2 separate regions of the Homo sapiens genome follow, and region 1 is linked to region 2. Evidence: promoter capture Hi-C in 16 types of primary human blood cells and fetal thymus (Javierre and others, 2016). All regions are on one chromosome and are shown on one strand. The core of a region is centred on a gene start or on the middle of the fragment in contact, and the rest is flanking DNA. Distances in the headings are between cores, read along the strand shown. Region 1 overlaps CTPS2 (CTP synthase 2). Region 2 holds the start of ZRSR2 (zinc finger CCCH-type, RNA binding motif and serine/arginine rich 2).

What was found. The method cuts DNA at HindIII sites, captures the fragments that hold promoters and counts their contacts. A CHiCAGO score of 5 or more calls a contact.
Region 1: a fragment that was not itself captured here is called in contact with the fragment with the promoter of ZRSR2 in region 2 in 5 of 17 cell types (non-activated CD4 T cells, total CD4 T cells, naive CD4 T cells and 2 more); the score reaches 9.3 in non-activated CD4 T cells.

Annotation. Positions count from the first base shown.
Region 1 is chrX:16,666,656-16,670,566 of GRCh38, forward strand. It overlaps CTPS2 (CTP synthase 2), which reads right to left. Exons shown (of 19, transcript NM_175859.3): 12 at 1,007-1,069; 13 at 859-902. Among named protein-coding and RNA genes, the nearest start is that of S100G, 18 kb to the left of the region's middle. The HindIII fragment of the contact is 3,321 bases long and covers 318-3,638 here.
Region 2 is chrX:15,788,746-15,792,285 of GRCh38, forward strand. ZRSR2 (zinc finger CCCH-type, RNA binding motif and serine/arginine rich 2) reads left to right here and starts at 1,739. Exons shown (of 11, transcript NM_005089.4): 1 at 1,739-1,791; 2 at 2,189-2,268. The coding sequence starts at 1,751. RefSeq lists enhancers at 1,617-2,066, 2,725-3,226. The HindIII fragment of the contact is 2,263 bases long and covers 263-2,525 here.

The DNA.
Region 1 (3,911 bases), core at 728-3,227, 880 kb after region 2:
CACAAAAAAGAAAAAAACTCAAAGCCTGGGAGGAATCAGGATGCCATGGGATGAATCAGCAAAGCAGCAGGTGACAGAGCACAGTGGCTTTGGGACCCAGCCCAGAATCCTGGACTGAATATTTTAAGGGAAAAGAAACTGATGGAAGATGAGGACTGGCAGCAGAATCACTGTCGCTTTTGTTTTAGAAAGACAGATGACCACCAGTGTGGAAAATAGGCAGACTGGTGATGAGTCTGGAGACAGGACAGCTCATTTATTTATAGTAGATGTTATAAATTGTTGTCACAGCCGATTTAATCCTTTCCTAAACATTAAGCTTGAAAGCTGCGACAAAGAGAAATCAGTCCAGGATTGTGACTGTCTTTAAGGCATAGCTGAGAAGATGGACTATCAAGAACAAAGGAATTTAATATAAGAATAATGTAATTTAAAATGTTCTGGTGCTGTAAAGAAAAAATAATAATAGACCCCCCCCCGCCTTTTTTTTTTTTTGAGAAGGAGTCTCACTCTGTCACTGAGGCTGGAGTGCGGTGGCATGATCTTGGCTCACTGCAACCTCCACCTCCCGGGTTCCAGCAATTCTCCTGCCTCAGCCTCCCGAGTAGCTGATATTACACGCATCTGCCACCACAGCCAGCTAATTTTTGTATTTTTAGTAGAGACAGGGGTTTCACCATGTTGACCAGGCTACTCTTGAACTCCTAACCTCAAGTGATCCGCCCGCCTTGACCTCCCAAAGTGCTGGGATTACAGGGGTGAGCCATGGCGCCCAGCCAATAGCCCCTTATGAATTTAGGCAAGAGCCAGGACCCAAGTGACAATGACTGGACCCAGAAAGATAAACAAGCCACTTACCAGAGGAACTGGGGCATTTGGCCTAAACTCTGTGGAATCAGCATCTGAAGATTAAGAAAAGAGTTCAGTAATTCACCAATAGTGCTGAAAAATATTTGAAGAGAGAAAATTTTTTAAATAAATGGTCATTAGCAAACCTCGAACTTACCTTTCAAGTTAAGGCAGTTTCTTGCAAACTCTATCACTGCTAGTTGCATCCCAAGACAAACTCCTATTTTAAAAAGCACATATGCAAAGCAAATGAACTCACTTTGTATTTGTTCACATTTTCTGTTCATTTGTTGGCTGCCTGTCTCCCCTATCTAGAATGCAGACTCCCAGAGAGCAAGACTCTGCCTGTTTTGCTCCCTGCTGTCCTCTCAGAAGAATCCCTGACAGAGAGCAGGGCAGGGGCTTAGACTATCATGAAGCCGCCTAAGTCCCAAAGTTGACAAAGAAGGAACATGAGGTCAGAAAAGTGCAGGGTCAACTGGGCGCAATGGCTCAAGCCTGCAATCTCAGCACTTTGGAAAGCCAAAGTGAGCAGATTACTTGAGGTCAGGAGTTCGAGACCAGCCTGGCCAACATGGTGAAACCAGCCTCTACTAAAAATACAAAAATTAGCCAGGTGTGGTGGCATGCACCTATAGTCCCAGCTACTTGGGAGGCTGAGGCAGGAGAATTACTTGAGCCCGGGAGGCAGAGGTTGCAGTGAGCTGAGATCACACCACTGTGCTCCAGGCTGGGTGAGAAAGAAGGAAGGAAAGAAAGAGAAGAAAGAGAGAAAGAGAGGAAGGAGGAGCTGGGTGCGGTGGCTCACACTTGTAATCCCAGCGCTTTGGGAGGCTGAGTTGGGCGGATCACGAGGTCAGGAGATCGAGACCATCCTGGCTAACATGGTGAAACCCCATCTCTACTAAAAAAAAAAAAATACAAAAAAAAATTAGCCAGGCATGGTGGTGGGTGCCTGTAGTCCCAGCTACTCGGGAGGCTGAGGCAGGGGAGTGGCGTGAACCTGGGAGGCAGAGCTTACAGTGAGCAGAGATCGCGCCACTGCACTCCAGCCTGGGCGACAGAGCGAGACTCTGTCTCAAAAAAAAAGAAAATAAAAAGAGAGAGAGGAAGGAGGGAAGGAAGGAAGAAGGGAAGAAGGAAGGATGGAAGGAAGGAAGGAAGGAAGAAGGAAGAAAGAAGGAAGGAAGGAGAAGGAAAAGGAAGGGGAGGGAAGGGAGGGAAGGGAGAAAGAGAGAAAGAAAGAAAGAAGGAAGGAAGGAAGGAAAGGAAGGAAGGAAGGAAGGAAGGAAGGAAGGAAGGAAGGAAGGAAAGAAGGAAAGAAAGAGGCAGAGTCCATGAGACAAATCTGCCACCTTCTAGATTTGTCCCTGAGTTGAGGCATCTTAGTGGGCTGCAGTGCCTGATTCCTTCAGAGAACATCTAACACCCCAACTCAGAGGGAGTTTCCTGGGCTAAGATTTCCCACTCCTTCTCATGGTGACTTCACAGCCATAAACACAGGCTTGGCCAGAGGTTGAGTGCCTACAGGACGTCAGGCTGCTAACCCACAGGCAGCCCCATAGCCTTCACTGTAAGGAAAAGCAGCAGTGGGGGGTGGGGGTTGGAGACTCCACAGTGGGCTTGAGCATGGTGGGCAGCAGGGAAGGAGACACGATGGGCCTGAACAGAGTGCTCGGTGATGAAGGAAGGCAGACCTGTGTCGCCCAAGCCTGTTGCCACAGGGATGCTCCCAGACCCAGCTCCGCCTTCACTGCAGTTCACCAATTCTCTCCACTAAACAAATGCCAAAGAGCATCCCAGATGCTCCTCCGATAGATACTTAAGATGTACACAGGGGAAACAAAGAAGGGAGCAATCAATATATCAGGGATGCCAGAACAGAAGTCAATAAGCAGGAAACAGCTGAGTGCTGGGGGGTGGGGGTGGCGGTGAGGGGGATTTCAGAAAGTTCCATATGGCTGGGACATAAAGAGATGCTATGCTAGAGGGAAAGCTAAAGACCTGCAAACCATTCCATACTATTAAAATAATCTGAGGAACATTACCCACATTTAGACAGAAACTTCAAAAAAAAAAACAATGGCCCCCAACGAGCTTAGACCAGTAAAAGAAAACAAGGTATCCAGGTAACTACTCCAGTCTTCTATTTTGAAAATGGATCCTAAGAGGAGAGAGTCTAAGAAGCTAATCAAAGAGCAGGTAATGGGGGGAAATAAATGGTCTGCTGGCACTAAAAGCCTGTCCAATGGGCTCATAAACCCACCCAGCCATCCACTGCACAGTGGGAAACACAGCCTCTCTGCACTCCCCCTCCTGCCTGAGTCCCCAGCTACAGGGCTGCCTCTCCCGCATCAAGGTCCCATTTCCTCTGGTTTCCCTGGTACAGAAGCCGTACTTCGCAATTTGAAAAAAAAGCATTAAAAAGGCTCAACTCGGCCGGGCACGGGGGCTCAAGCCTGTAATCCCCACACTTTGGGAGTCTGAAGTGGGCAGATTGCTTGAGCCCAGGAGTTTGAGGCCAGGCTGGGCAACATAGCAAGACTCCATCTCTTAAAAAAAAAAAAACACACACACACACAAAAATTAGCCAGGCACAGTGGTGTGTACCTGTAGTCCCAGCTACTCTGGAGACTGAGGTGGGAATTGGAGAAGGTAAGCACAGTTGCAGATGGAGCCTTCTCCCAGCCTCTGCTACCCAGCTGGAATAGCAGCAAGTTCTCCTAGGATGAGAAACGTTTTCTGTAAAGGGTCACATAGTAAAGATTCTAGCCTCTTTCAGATAGTAAAGCTTCTAGGCCGTAGGGTCTGAAACTCTGACGTTGGACCACAAAAGCAGCCATAGACAATATGTAAACAAATTGGTGTGGCTGTGTTCCAATAAAGCTTTATTCATAAAAACAGGCTGTGGGCCAAATTTAGAATATAGTTTGTTGACCCTATAGCAGACTATTTGGCACCTGAACTTTCAAATCCGAGTTCACACCTTTACGATAACAAACCTTTAGTGTTACCCCTCCTAGGTGTCAAAAATCTAATAAACTCATAGTTAGGGTCAATAA
Region 2 (3,540 bases), core at 489-2,988:
TTACAGCTGTAATGCATCCTTGTGAGGAACATTTTTTGCTTGGCCTTGTCCCTGGCCTTGTATGTGTACATTACAGTCTGATTATTAGTTGGGATGATTTTTAGTTTCTCAATCCCTACTCTCATTGCCCCAGTTTAATTCCTCAACACCTCTCACCTAGATTATTGTGATACTCTAGTTTTATCTTTTAAATCCTTTATATTGCAAAGCAGAGTGATTTACCTAAAACACAAACACAACCACAATAAGCCTCTATTTAAAAAGCTTTCAACGGTTCACTGTTGTCTCTACAGAATGTAAACAGAGCGTCTTAACATGGCACACCAGGCCCTCCTTAACCTAGCCCTCCCAGCCCATCACAACAACTATATTCCTTGATATTCTCGAATTGCACTTTATTTTGTTTTGTTTTTTTGAGACGGAGCCTTGCTCTGTTGCCCAGGCTGGAGGGCAGTGGTGCCATCTCGGCTCACTGCGGCCGCCACCTCCTGGGTTCAAGCAGTTCTCCTGTTTCAGCCTCCAGAGTAGCTGGGACTACAGGCATGTGCCACCACACCCGGCTAATTTTGTATTTTTAGTAGAGACGGGGTTTCACCATGTTGGCCAGGCTGACGAACTCCTGACCTCAGGTGATCCACCCGCCTAGGCCTCCCAAAGTGCTGGGATTACAGGCGTGAGCCGCTGCACCCAGCCTCGAACTGCACTTTAAATTGGATAGCTGGGCGGGCGTGGTGGCTCGCGCCTGTATTCCCAGCTACTCGGGAGGCTGAGGTGGAAGGATTGCTTGACCCCAGGAGGTCGAAGCTGCAGCGAGTCGTGATTGCGCCACTGCACTCCAACCTGGGTGAAAGACAAGACCCTGTCTCTAATATATAAGAAATGAATAAATAAATAAATTCGATTGCCAAAATTCTTGCTGTTCCCAGCATATTCCACTTTCACCTTTCAGCGCCTTTGCTTATGCTGATCTGACTGTAACTGCATTCCCACCCTTCTCCTTCTGGGTAAAGGGCATCTTCTTTCCAAACTCAACTCTTAGCATCAGAAAGCTGTCCCTGATACTGCAGTTGAGTCGCATGTGATACTGAAAAAAAAAGAAAAAAGGAAAAAAAAGAGAGCTCTCCCTGAATCCCTTGGTGGACTATGTTAGGTAAACTTCATCTTTGCCTGCATCATATTATGTATTGGTTCTTCTCTGCCCCCTCGATTGTAAACTCCTCAGGGGCAGAGGTAACAGCTTTGCAGCCCTGGGAGTTAGGTTTGCTTAAGGGACCAGAACAGGTGTGACTGGCAGGGAGCGAAGTCTGGAGCTTTGTCTGAGGCGCTGATAGGTGGATCGGCGGAAGGACGCGGAACCTGGACAGGTCGGAAATAAAGCCGGGCGAGCAGCTCTGTGCGCGATGTGACTTCATGAGTGGATGCTGAGAAAAGCGGCAGAGTACGACTTTAACCGCCTAGCCACAACACGTCCTGCTAGGGCGAGGAGGGAGACAGTGATACAGCACTGGGCAAGTGCTGAAGCGACAATTACTTCTAGGGCGGGGTAAAAGCCCCAGAGTATTTTTGCTGGAAGGAGGTATTTATTTGAGCAGGGTTCTGGAAGACGAGCCGCCGAAGGGTACCTCCGGCTTTCCGTTTCAAGTCCCACGCTGGTGGAGGTTGCTCGGTACCCGCGCCTGCGCGTGCCCGTCTCGACTCTTAGGCCCGCCCTTTCCTGCCAGACCTGGAGGGGCGGGGCGGTGCCGGCAAGATGGCTGCGCCCGAGAAGATGACGTTTCCCGAGAAACCAAGGTAAGCGCCGTACGGGGAGATGAGCAGGCGAGCGGGCCGATCGTGGGCATGGAGGATGTGGTGGCAGGAAGAAAAGAGAAGCTGGGCCAAGCTAAGTGAGCCACCGCGGCAGCTCCATTCCTTCCTGGTGCGCGCTCTGGTGCCCTCCCCGGACTTGCACGGGCGGCTGTGGCTCAGGCAAGCGAGGAGAGGATCAGGTTGGCGGATGGAGAAGAACTGTCTGGGAGTGGGAGGATGAGGCGATGATAGATGGCTGTTCTGTAATTAAAATACAGGAAGCAAGGTTTCTCTCCTCAGCACCCGAACTATTTCCTTTCATTGGGCACAGAGGAGCGGGGAGCTCGGGCAGCGCTGCATTGTAGCCGCTGATCGTCGTGTATATGTCTTAATCTTCCAGCCACAAAAAGTACAGGGCCGCCCTGAAGAAGGAGAAACGAAAGAAACGTCGGCAGGAACTTGCTCGACTGAGAGACTCAGGTGATGGACTCTTTATTCTGTTTTCTGTGTTGTGAAATTGCTCTGTCCACTCCAGCCCTAACTTGAAGCCCCAGTGTCAGAAGGAAGTCAAATATTGTGTCGGAGGAAAAATAGCTGTGACTTCTGCCCCCAAGTAGTTATTTAGAAACACATGTCAGAAACAATGTTAACATACTAAAGGCAGGAAGAGGAAGTCTTGGTGAATGATCGCCCACTGATTCTGTGTAACTTATAAAGTATCTAATATTACAGTTGCAAGCTTCATGAATTACAGCAGCTAGCACAGTCCTTGCACACGTAGTAAGTATTCGGTGAATGTTTTTCTTCGTAAAACCAGCAGGAGTTGAAGGTATTAATTAGACGTTTTGCAAGTTTTTCTCAAACTTGACTAATATGAGACCCTTGGTTTACCCAAATTATTATGTTATTCAAATATATATCAACATAATACTAGTTATGAAGCTCATTTATTTATTTTTGAGACAGGGTCTTGTTCTGTTGCCCAGGAGGGATGTGCACAACCACGGCTCACAGCAGCCTCCACCTCCCAGGCTCAAGCAGTCCTCCCACCTCAGCCTCCCTAGTAGCTGGGACTACAGGCATTCACCACCACACCTGGCTAATTTTTTCTTTTCTTTTCTTTTTTTTTTTTTTTTTTTTTGAGACGGAGTCTCGCTCTGTTGCCCAGGCTGGAGTGCAGTGGCACGATCTTGGCTCACTGCAGCCTCCGCCCCCTGGGTTCAAGCAGTTCTCCTGCTGCAGCCTCCCGAGTAGCTGGGATTACAGGCGTGCGCAACCACACCCGGCTAATTTTTGTATTTTTAGTAGAGATGGGGTGAAACCCCATCATGTTGGCCAGGCTGGTTTCGAACTTCTGACCTCAGGTGATCCACCCACCTCAGCCTCCCAAAGTGCTGGGATTAAAGGCGTGAGCTACCGCCCCTGGCCCACCTGGCTAATTTTTAAAATTTTCGTAGAGACGGGATTTCACTGTGTTGCCTGGGCTGGTCTCGAACTCCTGGCCTCAAGCAATCCTTCCACCTCGGCCTCCCAAAGTGCTGGGATTATAGGCATGAGCCACCACACCTGACCTGAAGCCATTGTTTGACTATAAAACAATATATGGGCTGGGCGCGTGGTGGCTCATGCCTGAAATCCCAGCACTTTGGAAAGCCGAGGCAGATGGATCACCTGAGGTCAGGGGTTCGAGACCTGCCTGGCCAACATGATGAAACCCTGCCTCTACTAAAAATACAAGATTAGCTGGGCTTG